2 separate regions of the Homo sapiens genome follow, and region 1 is linked to region 2. The links are contacts of gene promoters, found by promoter capture Hi-C in blood cells and fetal thymus (Javierre and others, 2016). All regions are on one chromosome and are shown on one strand. The core of a region is centred on a gene start or on the middle of the fragment in contact, and the rest is flanking DNA. Distances in the headings are between cores, read along the strand shown.

Region 1 (7,098 bases), core at 3,872-6,371, 1.2 Mb before region 2:
TGCAATTTCAAAGAGTTTAACTTTTTTGAGCCTCATTTTACACAGTAACATGGGGATAATGGTTCTGATTGCATAGAATTATTATGAGAGTAAGATGAAATAATGAGTGGAAGTGCCTGCAGCATGTATTGTTAGTAAATGCTGTATTACTGCAGGCAAATTTTTCTTTTGTTGTGGTTTTTTGGTGACATGTATGATTTATTTCCAGATTTTGAATATACTTAAATACTATTAACCACAGTAGGGGTATGGGGTTTGATCCACAGCTTTTCATATATTTTATACAATATATTGTGTGTTTGATACACAGCTTTTCATATACTTTATTATAAGTAACACATGAATTAGAAATAATTTTTCACAATAGGAAAAACTTTTTAAAAATTAAAATTTATAATCCTGCTAACCGTAGGTGAATAGTCACATTTTGGGCAATCCTTTTTTATGCATATATATGTAGTGGTTTTATTTTATTTTATTTTATTTTTATTTTTTGAAACGGAGTCTTGCTCTGTTGCTCAGGCTAGGGTGCAATGGTGCGACCTCGGCTCACTGCAACCTCCGCCTCACGGGTTCAAGCAATTCTCCTGCCTCAGCCTCCCGAGTAGCTGGGATTACAGGCGCCCGCCGCTGCGCCCGGCTAATTTTTATATTTTTAGTAGAGACGGGGTTTCACCATCTTGGCCAGGCTGGTCTCGAACTCCTGACCTCGTGATCCACTCGCCTCAGCCTCCCAAAGTGCTGGGATTACAGGCATGAGCCACCGTGCTGGGCCTGTAGTGTTTTCTAAAAATAGAATTATATTATAAATTGGGTTTATCAACTTGCTGAAAATGGCAGAGGCCAGTGCGATGAGAGTAGGGTGATTAAGGGAGTAGGAAGTAATGCAGGAAAGGGAGTTTGTAGGATTTAGATTTCACTGAAAGTGTACTGGACAGGTTGGGCATAGTGGCTCAGGCCTGTAATTGTGTCACTTTGGGAGGCTGAAGTGGAAAGATCCCTTAAGCCCAGGAGTTCGAGCCAGCCTGGGCAACATAGGGAAACCCTATCTCTATAAAATAAAAATAAAAATAATTATTTTGAAAAAAAAGTTTACTGGACAGAGTAAGTTCAGGGTTGAGGAGTGACCTGATTTGTTTTAGAAGGCTCATTTGGCTGCCATATGGAGATAGACTGCAAGGGACCAGGGGAGGAAGATGCAATCCAATTAGGAGAGTATTTAAGTAATCTCTGTGAGAGATGGTGTTAGTTTCGATCAGGGTGTAAGTAGGGAAAAATGATTGGGTTCTGGATATATTTTGAAGGGAGAAGTTATAGGATTCACTGATTGATGGGATGTGGAATTCAAGAGAAAGTGACTTAAAGAATTTTGGTTTGGGCAGTTAAACAGATACAGTTGCTACTTACCAAGATAGAGACTGAAAGTTGGGGGAAACTAAATAGAGTTCTGTTTCAGTCATGTTACCTGTTGTGGAGTCTAACTAGTTGGAACAGGAGTATGAAAGACTTAATCTTCTGTTCTTGAGGTATCAATTTGTCCCTTCATTTCTGTCAGTTTTTGCTACATATATTCTGTTACTAGGTGCATCTATCCTTGTAAATTGTTACATCTTCCTTGTGGGTTTATCCTTTTATCATTAAAAATGTTTCTCTTTTTCTCTAGTAACATTGTTTTAAAGTCTATTTTGTCTGATATTAATGTAGCTATTTCAGTTCTCACGTGATTACTATTTACATGCTTTGTATCATTGACTCTAAAATGTGTCTCCTGTAGACATATAGTTGGATCTTGGTTTGTTTTTTGTTTGTTTGTTTGTTTTTTGTTTTGAGACAGAGTCTTGCCCTGCCTCCTTGGCTGGAGTACAATGGCGTGATCTGGGCTCACTGCAACCTCCACCTCCCGGGTTCAGACGATTCTCCCACCTCAGCCTCCCCAGTAACTGGGATTACAGGGGCCCGCCACCACGCCCAGCTAATTTTTGTATTTTTAGTAGAGACGGGGTTTCACCATGTTGGCCAGGCTGGTCTCAAACTCCTGACCTTGTGATCCACCTGCCTCGGCCTCCCAAAGTGCTGGGACTACAGGCATGAGCCACTGTGCCTGGCCGGATCTTGTTTTTTTTAATCTGATAATTTCTGCCTTTTGATCCAATTGTTTAATCATTCACATTTAATGTTATTGATATAGTTGGATTTATGTATGCCATCTTATTTTTGTTTTCCTTATGTCTTGTCTTTTTCTTTTCCTGTCTCTCCTTTACTGCTTTGTTTTGGATCAAGTGAATATCTTCTAATGTAGCATTTTAATTTCTTGAATGATTTTTTACACTGTTTTAAGTTTTTTTTAGAGACTGTAGTGGTGCTCTAGGGCTTACCGTACAATTAGCTTAACTTATTAGAATCAGCTTCAGATTTATACTAACTCAATTGCAGTGAGATATAGAAACCTTACTCCAATATAGTTTTATTCCATGTCCCTGTTTTTTTGTGGTTTTGTTGTTGTACATGTTATAGTTGTTACAAACTCAACAATACATTACTACAATTATTACTTTTACATCATTTAAAGAAAATGAACAAAGGAAAGCAAATATATATTTGTAGCTTTTGTTATAGTAACCTTATTTATCATTTCAGGTTGTTTGTTTATTTTTCTTGTGGATTCATTACCATCTGGAGTAATTTTGTTTTCTTTTTCTTTCTTTTTTTTTTTTTTGGAGGGATAACAGGGTCTTGCTCTGTTGCCCAGGCTGCTGGAGTGCAGTGTCATGAATATATCTCACTGTAGCGTCAAACTCCTGGACTCAAAGTGATCCTTCCACCTCAACCTCCTGAGTAGCTGGGACTACAGGCACATGCCACCAGGCATGGCTAATATTTGTATTTTCTGCACCTCAGCCTTCTGAGTAACTATATTACTCTATAAGCACACATCACCACACCCAGCTAATTTTTAAATTTTTTATAGAGACAGAGTCTCACTGTGTTGCTCAGGCTGGTCTCTAACTCCTGGCCTCAAGTGATCCTCCAGCTCTGGCCTCCCAAAAGTGCTGGGATTACAGGCATGAGTTCTTTGTATGAGTTCCTTGTATATTTTGGATATTAACCCCTTGTTAGATAAAAGGTTTTTCAGTATTTTCTCCCATTCCGTGGACTGCCTTTTCATTTTGTTGTTTCCTTTGCTGTGCAGAAGCTTTTTTGTTTGGTTTAGTTCCATTTGCTTATTTTTGCTTTTGTTGCCTGTGCTTTTGGTGTCATTTACAAAACAAACAAACAAAATTATTGCCAAGACTAATGTCATGGAGCTTTTCCACTGTTTTCTTCTAGTTTTACAGTTTCATGTCTTACACTTAAGTCTTTTCACTTTTTTTTTTTTTTGAGACAGAGTCTCCCTCTGTTGCCCAGGCTGGAGTGCAGTGGTGTATGATCTTGACTCACTGCAACCTCCACCTCCTGGGTTCAAGTGATTCTCCTGCCTCAGCCTCCCGAGTAGGTGGGATTATAGGCATGTGCCACTGTGCCCGGTTTATTTTTGTATTTTTAATAGAAATGGGGTTTCACCAGGCTGGTCTTGAACTCCTGACCTCAAGTGATCCACCCGCCTCAGCCTCTCAAGGGACTAGGATTACAGGCAAGAGCCACTGCGCCTGGCCTCTTTTAACCATTTTGAATTGACTTTTGTGGATGGGGTAAGATAAGGGTCCAATTTCATTTCTTGGCATGTGGTTATCTAGCTTTTTCAACACCATTTATTAAAGAGACTATCCTTTCTTTATTGTGTACTTTTGACACCTTTGTTGATGATTAGTTGGCCACATAAACGAGGATTTATTTCTGGGATTCCTATTCTGTTCCATTGGTCTATATGTCTCCTTTTATGCCAGTACCATACAGTTTTGATTACTGTAGGTCTGTAATATAATTTGAAATGAAGTGTGATGCCACCAGCTTTGTTCTTCTTGCTCAGGATCATTTTAGATATTCTGGGTCTTTTGGGTTCTGTATGGATGTTAGGAATTTTTTTTTTTTTTCTGTGAAAAATGTCATTGGAGTTTTGCTAGAGATTGCGTTGAATCTGTAGACTACTTTGTGTATTGCAGACATTTTGACAATAATGATTCTTCTGATCCTGAACATGGGATAGCTTTCCATTTATTTGTGTCATCTCCAGTTCTTTCATATATGTATTATAGCTTTTAGCATACACATCTTTCCCCTCCTTGGTAAAACTTATTCCTAAGTATTTTATTCCTTTTGATGCTATTGTAAATGGGATTGCTTTCTTAATTTCTTTCTTGGATACTTCACTGTTAGTGAAGTGTAATTGATTTTTGTATGTTGATTTTGTATCCTGAAACTTTACTGGATTCGTTTATTCATTCTAACAGTTTTTAGTGGCGTATTTAGGGTTTTCTGTATATAGGATGATGTCACCTGCAGAGACAATTTTACTTCTTCCTTTCTGATTTGGATGCCTTTTATTTCTTTTCCTTGCCTAATTTCTGTGGCTAGGATTTCTAGTACTATGTTGAATGTAAGTGATAAGTGTGGGCATCCTTGTCTGTCCTTGTCACATTCAGTTGTATGTGCAATACTGGAACCATCCAGCTCATAGTCACGTAATTCCTCTTTGTGCAGCCTCATGTAAAATCACACCCCTATTCACATTTTTTTCTGTCTGTCTCCCACCTCTCCAGGTCCCTGCCCTGCAACTTTCAGTTACTTCAGACTCTCAGAAGACTAGCCTCTAAATACCTCAATTTATCTGCACTACTGTGGTCTACTTGAAATTCTCTTCCCTCTTCTGCAGTTTGTAATGGCATTCAGGCCAAAAACTGTAGTAGTTTTAGGGCTCTCTTCATTTGCTTCTCTGCTCCTAGGGATCATAGTGCTGTGCTATCTGTTGTCCAGCATCTGACACAGTTGGTTTTATATTTTGTCTGGTTTTCTAGTTATTAAGCAGGTTAAGTCTGGTTCCTGCTGTTCTATATAGCAGGAAGCAAAGGTTCTCTCATGAATTTTTAGCATAATAACATAAGCGTGGATTCCAAAAATTCATTACACAGATCCTGGAAATCTGTTTACTATGTTTTATACATTCTGTGAAAGCTGGAGAATATATATTTGTTTTACTATGTGTATCGCAAATAAAATATCAATTTCATGTGCCAGAGAATTGAATACATTATCAAAGGGTCATTTCATAACGTTATAATCACCATCCATCCTGTAAGTCCTTTGAAATTTCTTCTTTTCTATGGATCTAACATTGATCAATAACGAATTCCTAAGCATCTATATTAGTTAGCCCAGTGTTTCTCAAAGTCCACCGCATGTAAAAATCATCTAGGGAATCTTTCTAAAATGTGGATTCTGATTTAGTAGGTCTGGGGTGAGGTCTTCCCTTTTGCAATTCCAGCAAGTTCCCATGGGATGCTGGTACTGGTTAATGGAAGTCACTTAGAGTAGCAAGGAGCCTGTTTGCCTAGTATTTACAATGAGCACGTTTTGGGTATCATCAAAACAAGAGAATCTAAAAATGTATGGTGTGGGTGGAAGGTTGTGTTACTTGATATTTCAAAAAGATCATTGAAATCAGAAAATCTCAGAGATATGTTGGATTTCATCACATTTATTCTATGGCTTAATGTTGTTTTATTTTGAATATATAATAAGAGAGATACCACAAATCTTTAGCTATTAATATTTAGGGATGTTAATGTCCTTAATTCATATTGTCTCAAATGTGATTCATTCCCTCTATAGGTATACTAAAACAGGCATTCATGCCTACAAAACCATCTTCCTAACTTTCTTTCCTCTTTTTAGTCTCTTCCTGAACCAGTGACAGTGGTTCTCAAACATTTTGGTCTGAGGACCCCTTTATGGCCTTAAAAATGATCGAAGAGCTTTTATTTATGAAGGTAATACCTGCTAATACTTGTTGTAATCTATTAACATTGAGAAATGTAAAAATTTTTATTAATTCACTTAAAATATCAATAAACCCATTATTTGCTAATATAAATTGCACTTTTTAATGAAAAATAACTTTAGTTTCTACTGTGTGCTTCTGCATTTTGAAAATATGTCTAGGATACGGTATGTATTTAGGAGATATTTTCTAAATAAATGCATATTCATTTTTTAAAATGGGACAAATGTAGCATAGACATATTTTTGCTAACAATATCCATATAGTTGCAAATTTCACTTTTAGAATTTGCTTTCAAAAACAGGTTGTTTATTCTTCTTTGTTATGCCTTAGTTAGTAAATCATATATTATAAAACTTCTTCAATGCAATTGGTCTTTGGTCAGCCATTGACATAGGAAGAGTTAGAAAGAGTCCAGGGCTCCTTGGTACTGGCTGTGACTGGATAAGTAGGTTGTGGCTTAGTTTGTGTTTAGGTGTCATAACTAGGCTAGGTTTGGGTCCCAGAAAGTGCTAGCCTTACTGTAGGAGAGGAAGTGGTATTGCTGGGTGTGTCCTCAGGTCAGGAAGTGGGACGAGTGCAGTATGGAAGCCCAGGGGGGTCCTTGTGACTGGAGGAAAGGTGAGGTTTCCAGTAAAGGATTCAGAATTCGGGCATGGTGCAGCATGCCTATAGCCCCAGCTACTCAGGAGGCTGAAGTGGGAGGATCACTTGAGACCAGGAGTTCAAGGTTGCAGTGAGCTGTCATTGCGCCACTGCACCCCAGCCTGGGTGACAGAGTGAGACCTGTCTCAAAAATAAATACATAAAAATAATAATTAAAAAAAAAGGATTCAGAATTCTAGAATACATATTATCTTTCTATCATGCAGATCTGTTCTTAGGATTGTATTTTCCAAATCATGAATAAAATAATTTCCAAAATACTTATTGGGAAATTATATATATGTACTGTATTACTTGGAATAAAAATCAAATAAAAGTCAAACTTCTTAATGTGGCTGTAAAGCCTTGATTATTTAAACCTTGCCTATTTTTCAGTTTAATCTTTCAGCCACACTGGCCCTTGTGTTAATCCTAAAACATGCCATGCTTTTTCCTACATTAAAGCTTAGGGTTTTTGATATTTCTACTGCCTGGATTTCTCTGTTCTCACTCTTCCT
Region 2 (6,599 bases), core at 390-2,889:
TGCCAGGACCCTGAGGGCAGAATAGTTTTAAGGGAGGACTCAGGACACCATGGAACCTTGGGGCTTGCTGCCTAGGGCTGCCTCAAGTCTCTGCCCCCCCACCCCCCACATTCTGGTGCAGCACTCTTTGGCCACCATCCCACGTGTGGCTTATGCAGGCCCTTGTCAGGCCACCCTTCCTGTAAGCCTTGGCAGAGTCCACGTGATGCTAACTCTGCAGGTGCACAGAGTGCATGAACTGTGGAGACACAGCCACCTCCACCTAGATTTTGAAGGATGTGTTGGGGACCCTGGGGGCCCAGTCTGAGAATTGTCACTGAGGTGAGGCTGCTGCAGAAAACCCTCACTAGGGCAATGTTTAGTGGAGCAGTGGGATTGGGGCCACTGCAGAGAGCCCCAAATAGAGTAATATCTAGTGGAGCTGTGGGAACAGGGCTGTCCCTGAGAACCCAGAACTGTCCAGCCACCAGCATGCAAGTCTATCCTGGGAGAGCCTAGACCTCAACCTGTGAGAGCTGCTGCATGGGTTGCACCTGGCAAATCCATGGGAGTGGATCCCCTGGACACTAGGGGACCCAGTCTCCACCCCCCTGTGCTCGGAATGGGGGACACAGCATCAAAGAAGATTATTCTGAAGCCCCAAGATTTAATGCTGTTTGCCTTGTTGGGTTTGGACTTACTTGGGACCAGATACTCCTTTCTTCTTGCCTGCTTCTCCCTTTGGGAATGGGAATGTACGTCCTATGCCTGTCTCATCACTGTATTTTGAAGGCCTGTAACCTATTTGATTTCACGGGCTCATAGCTGGAGGGGAATTTCACTTAGGATGAATTGTACTTTGAATCTTATGCCTTTCTAATTTAGAAGATATTTAGGTGAGACTTTGGACTTACATTTTAAAGTTGATACTGGAACTTTGGAGGCCACTGGGATACAATGCATGCATTTTGCATGTGAGAGGGGTATGAATTTGGAGGGCAGGGGCAGAATGCTATGCTTTGAATGTCTGTGTTCCCTGCAAAATTCATGCTGAAACAATCCTCAATGCAATACTAACAGGTGGTGCCTTTAGGAGGTGACTGGATTATGAGGGCACCTTCCTCATGAATGGGATTGGCCCCTTATACGAGAGACTTCACATGAGATTTGGCCCCTTTTGCCCTTCCACTTTCCACCATTGAGGACGCAGCAGCAAGCTGTCATCTTGGAAACAGAGAGCAGGTGTTTGGAACTGGTTCTGTTTCATCTGATTCTGGGGGCCCCTCTTTTTCCCTGTGCAAGATCCCCAAATTTGCTTCCTTCTCTCAAAGAAAGCTCCCAATATAGATGGGACTCAAAGGGAGTCATTTGCCCTCTAAGAGGTGTCACAATATGTCGTCTCAGTCATTCACACCTTAGTAAGAAAAAGCTTTTCAGGTCCTTGCCAGAGATTCGGGGAAAGGCTTTGAACTGAGAAAGAAGCCGCGCCCCTGAGGAGGGCGCTGCCCGGAAGCCACGCTCACTTCTGCTTGCACTTAGGCGACCTCGGGAGCTCGGACTCCTACGCAGTCACCGGGAAGGGCCGCCGCCCCGCCCGCGGCTGCTGGCCCGGGTGACGCTTCCGCCTGCTATAAGAGCAGCGGCCCTCGGTGCCTCCTTCCTGACCTCGCACCCAGCTCGGAGCCCGGAGCGTGCCTCGGCGGCCTGTCGGGTAAGGCCGGGCCTCGGAGCGGTGGCGCGGGGGCGGGCGCGGGGAGAGGCCAGGCTCCCTCGCTCAGCTTCCAGCCCGGCACCCCCCACCCCCCAGGCTCAGGCCCCTCAGACCCGCAGCTCCCTGCGCTCGCCCTCCCCGCCAGCTTCGCGCCCCCATCCCTTCCGGGCGCCCCGACGGAGACAGACGACCTCTGATCCCCCGCCCCCGCCTGGGTACAGGCCGGGCCAGCCCGCGAGGGAGGGAGGGAGGGAGGACGACAGATGCAGGCGGAAGGCAAGACTGAAACCTGAGATCAGAATGTTGTCCCTTCTCCCTGAATTCCCTTCCTCCCAGAGCTGTTTGTGACGGTTTCCAGGCAGCCCAGGGCCAGGCCGCGGCTCCTATCTGCAGCTGCAGGGAGAGAGAGGAGGAACCCCGTGCGATTCTAGAGACGATTTCACAACAAGGAGAAATCAGCTTTGTGCTTACATGCCGAGCAGCCAGCACGGTTCTTCTTTGCCTGTCCTCGGGGGAAATCAGGGCTCTGAGAGTGGAGATCGAGATGGGCTAGTGGGTGGCGGATGGGACGCTGCACGGCCAGACCCTGGACTGTGGTGGGTTTCCAAACTGGCACATCCTACACCGGCTCTGAGACTGTGGGCACTGGACCTCATACCTTTTGAACCTCAAAAATAAGGAAGAATTATATTATTATAATAATTACAGTGATACCTTTGCTGGAGTTTTAATGCATAGTAGGTAGCTGAGTCTCTGATAGAAGGCTCTTAGTTCAGGTGAAGGTAGGCAATGGATTCATTGCCCAATGAATCAGAGACTTGAATCAAAGGCTCAGAAGCACGTGCGCTCCCACACATAGGTTGGGAAGACCCAGGGCTGGGTGGGCCCTCCCACCCCACTAAAGCTGGGGTAGCTGGGGCCTGCCTTACCCCCGCCCCACCCCCAGACTCACCTGTCTGCAAGGTCAGAGCCCTTTAGGGCACCCTGGGTGCCCTAAAATCCCCTATAACTGCTGAGTCCTTGGCCAGAATGGTCCCACATTTGTGGGCCTGGGAAAGTGTTCTTGCCCTGCTGGAATAAAAAAGCGGGGAGAAAGTACAAGATCCAGGATGCCTCAGGGCGGTTGGCAGAAATTGAGGAAGCTTCTGGAGAAATAGTGCTGCCTAATCTGCTGGCGTGGGCAGTGGGCACCATGAGGACCCTGTTCTGTGTTGCAGTTTTCACCATGGAGCAGCTGAGCTCAGCAAACACCCGCTTCGCCTTGGACCTGTTCCTGGCGTTGAGTGAGAACAATCCGGCTGGAAACATCTTCATCTCTCCCTTCAGCATTTCATCTGCTATGGCCATGGTTTTTCTGGGGACCAGAGGTAACACGGCAGCACAGCTGTCCAAGGTCAGCAGAAACAAAAAAAAGGGTCTGCTTTCCTCCCATCTCCCTACGAATGGACAGTCTGCATGGAAAGGTTGTGCCTTTGAGCTCTTACCTTGTGTTTTCAGAACTGTATTTTTATGAGATCAGACTTTCAGAAAAGTCACACTTGTATGCAGGCTTCCATTCATCATCAGGTTTTTCCTAAGTACCTACCACGTACCAGGAACTGTTTTTCGTATTGCTGAGGAGACAGCAGTGAGCAAAGCTGACAAAAATCCCTGCAGGGCGAGGCTTCTGTTCCAGTGGATGAATCTGACAGCTTTCCTGAAAGGCATACTACATCCTCCTGAGCTAGCATCTTCCAGTTTTTGCTTTGCATATGATGATATGCAACTCATAAATATTGCCTGTTATATAACACTACTTTCAAGCATAATGAGAGGAATAAGACATAGGGAATGCATTATAGTGGAGATAGTGGCATTGCTTTTTTGCAAGGAAAAGAGAAAAAGTGACCCTGTGGTTCTGTAGTCCCAGGGTGCTGCGCATGGCTCAGTGGGCTGTGGCATAGCACGCCCTGCAGGGGAGGTGAGGGGGAGACCCGCAGCTTCAGGGGCGGGACCCAGCCCTTGGCGATGTGACAGGTCACTCTCATGCCCAGCCTTCCTTCTTGTCCATAATGGACATGGAGAGGACTTCTGTGCTTGGTACTCTTTAATTCTGAGAAGAGAACTCTAGCTCTCTCTCTCTAAGCTCAGCAGAAAGGAGTGGTAAAAGTGGAGGCTCTTCTAACATACCTGCCGCAAATTACACTGCACCTGTTCCTTGGCAAGGTGCAGCCTGGGATTCAAGTTCAAGGGGCTGCGAAACTTCTATTACTCATCACTTTAGATATGAAAGCATTTTAAATGTTTTTTTTAAATCCATTAAAAAAAAAAAACCTCTGTTACTAATTGTTAGTTGCTTCTTGCAGGGTTATATCAGTTCCTAGCTTGAGGTTTTCCAGGGACTTTAAAACCTCAGCAAAGAATAGTTTTAAGGACTCCTCCCCCATTTCCATTAAAGCAGATGGAGCATAGGCACAGTGCAAACATTCCATATCTCGGTGAGTAATGTGGACTTCGTACCCTATGCAATTTTGTTCTTTGTGTCTTAATCATAAAGGAACCAGCCTAGGTCTCATAAAACCACAAAGGGCCTCTTGATTTGTAACTGATACATGGGGAATTAAACTTTTGCCAGAATGTTAAGTTTAAGGAAGTTATTTTAAAATAAGTGAGTTACTGATGTTAATAGGGTAATAAAATTTTAAAAGCTTCAGTCTGTACTATCTTTGTGGTTCTGAATAGAGGATGAATCCTATTTTTACTGCTTATTTCTGAGAACTTTCAGTAAAATTATATTTGATACAGAATATAAATATGAACATACCATTTATTATTTTCTTTGGAAAAGGCAGACTTATATATAAATATTTAGTATCTTAACCACCCACATTTGTGGAACTGCAAGTGTAACAAAGAGTGATGTAAAAGCAATGTGTAAAGTTGTAAACATTCTGTCTCACGAAGCCATAAATTTTGGATTTCCTATTGTTTGTTCTGCAATGACAAATTAATAAAGTATTGGGTTTGGGATCATCAATAATTAGTAATAAAAACACATTAATTTAATGTGATAGAAGGAAACACCAAGGAATCACTTTATAGTTTCAAAATAAATGGTTGTAGAAAGAAGATTTTCTTTATTTTAGACTTTCCATTTCAACACGGTTGAAGAGGTTCATTCAAGATTCCAGAGTCTGAATGCTGATATCAACAAACGTGGAGCGTCTTATATTCTGAAACTTGCTAATAGATTATATGGAGAGAAAACTTACAATTTCCTTCCTGTAAGTACTTTGCCCTTCACATTCTAAAACCCCACTAGACAGTGCAGATATTTTCCAGCACAATCAAGTCATGGAGGTCAGTTTTAATATTTGTAAACTTTCAGAAAAACAATACAGAAGGCAAACATGGCAAAAACAATATGGAAGGCAAACACGACAGAATGCAAACTTTAATTGACATGGTGATTTTGTGTTACAGTCTTTTTAGTGAAAAGATAGCTCTTGGAGGTTTTACTGAAGCAAGAGTACAATCAGTGTTTGTGAAATCTTAGTCAAAGTTCAGAAAAGAGTGGTAATTTCTATATAACAACAACAGTATAAGGGTTAGGCTTACCACTACTGGAATGCACAGTTAAAAGTGGCTAAGATCGTAAATTTAATGTTAAATGATTTTTACTACTATAAGAAAAACTATAAGAGTTAGAAATTTTGTGTTACATGGAATTGTAGCCTTTTAGGACAATTTCTGTTGCTTTTTGGGATTTTAGAAAACAATTTCTATATGTAGTAGGAGTTATATATATATTTCCTTTTCCTTTTTTTTAATAGGAGTTCTTGGTTTCGACTCAGAAAACATATGGTGCTGACCTGGCCAGTGTGGATTTTCAGCATGCCTCTGAAGATGCAAGGAAGACCATAAACCAGTGGGTCAAAGGACAGACAGAAGGTGAGAGCCTGGGCAGAATGGAATCATTATGCGCTGGTCATGTCATTCGTTTCCTCAGTCCGCCTTCCCTACCTGCAGTTATTCCCTCCCCAGCTCCCACAGTCCTGGCGCACATCGTGGTTACAGTCAGAGGACGCTGCCGGTGCGTGAAGTCTGCACTGCACGTTGCTGGACAGCTCTCACATGTTCGAAGTTCACCAGAGTGGAAACTTAAACATGATTTAACTCAAGCAGCTAAATCCTTTTTTCTCATCAGCTCCCCAAAACTTTTAAAGTTGCATTTCAAAGTTAAAACCAACATTGGCAGGCGCGGTGGCTCATGCCTGTAATCCCAGCACTTTGGGAGCCCAAGGCGGGCGGATCATTTGAGGTCAGGAGTTCAAGACCAGCTTGGCCAACATGATGAAACCCTGTCTCTACTAAAAATACAAAAAATTTAGCCAGGTGTGGTAGCACACACCTGTAATCCCAGCTACTCTGGAGGCTGAGGCAGGAGAATCTCTCGAACACAGGAGGTAAAGGTTACAGTGAGCCGAGATCATGCCACTGTACTCCAGCCTAGGCAACAGAGCGAGACTCCGTCGTAAAAAAAATAATAAAAATAATAAAAAATAAAAAATAAAGTTAAAACCAACACTGAATACAGCAAAAAAGGAATTAAAATTTTGAGGAGAATTCAGCCTGCCAAAAATTACCTAATACTCATATGGAAAGAAATGTCCTGGAATTTCATGGAAATACCTGAAATCAATATTCACAAACTACTGTGGTTGTAAATTTTTTGCCAACATCTTGTCCAGTAAAAAAGTTGTGGTAGGTGGGGACTGACTTGCTTTTAGGGTGCAATTTATTTCTTTGCTACATCTCTCTTCTTACATAGCCCTGTATTAGTCAACCCACTCCAGAAGACCTGTCTTCCATTATGGGAATTGTTCCCAGCCATACTTATGGTCACGAAGGTGACCTTTATTTCCATGGA

What was found. The method cuts DNA at HindIII sites, captures the fragments that hold promoters and counts their contacts. A CHiCAGO score of 5 or more calls a contact.
Region 1: a contact is called between a fragment that was not itself captured here and the fragment with the promoter of SERPINB1 in region 2, in 2 of 17 cell types (non-activated CD4 T cells and activated CD4 T cells). The highest score is 6.4, in non-activated CD4 T cells.

What each region holds. Positions count from the first base shown.
Region 1 is chr6:4,010,332-4,017,429 of GRCh38, reverse strand. It overlaps LOC124901245 (a long non-coding RNA gene), which reads left to right. Exons shown (of 2, transcript XR_007059415.1): 2 at 5,830-7,098. Among named protein-coding and RNA genes, the nearest start is that of PRP4K, 7.4 kb to the left of the region's middle. The HindIII fragment of the contact is 3,852 bases long and covers 3,196-7,047 here.
Region 2 is chr6:2,836,903-2,843,501 of GRCh38, reverse strand. SERPINB1 (serpin family B member 1) reads left to right here and starts at 1,639. Exons shown (of 7, transcript NM_030666.4): 1 at 1,639-1,690; 2 at 2,908-3,083; 3 at 4,816-4,953; 4 at 5,503-5,620. The coding sequence starts at 2,916. RefSeq lists a silencer at 1,695-1,744. The HindIII fragment of the contact is 1,424 bases long and covers 1,411-2,834 here.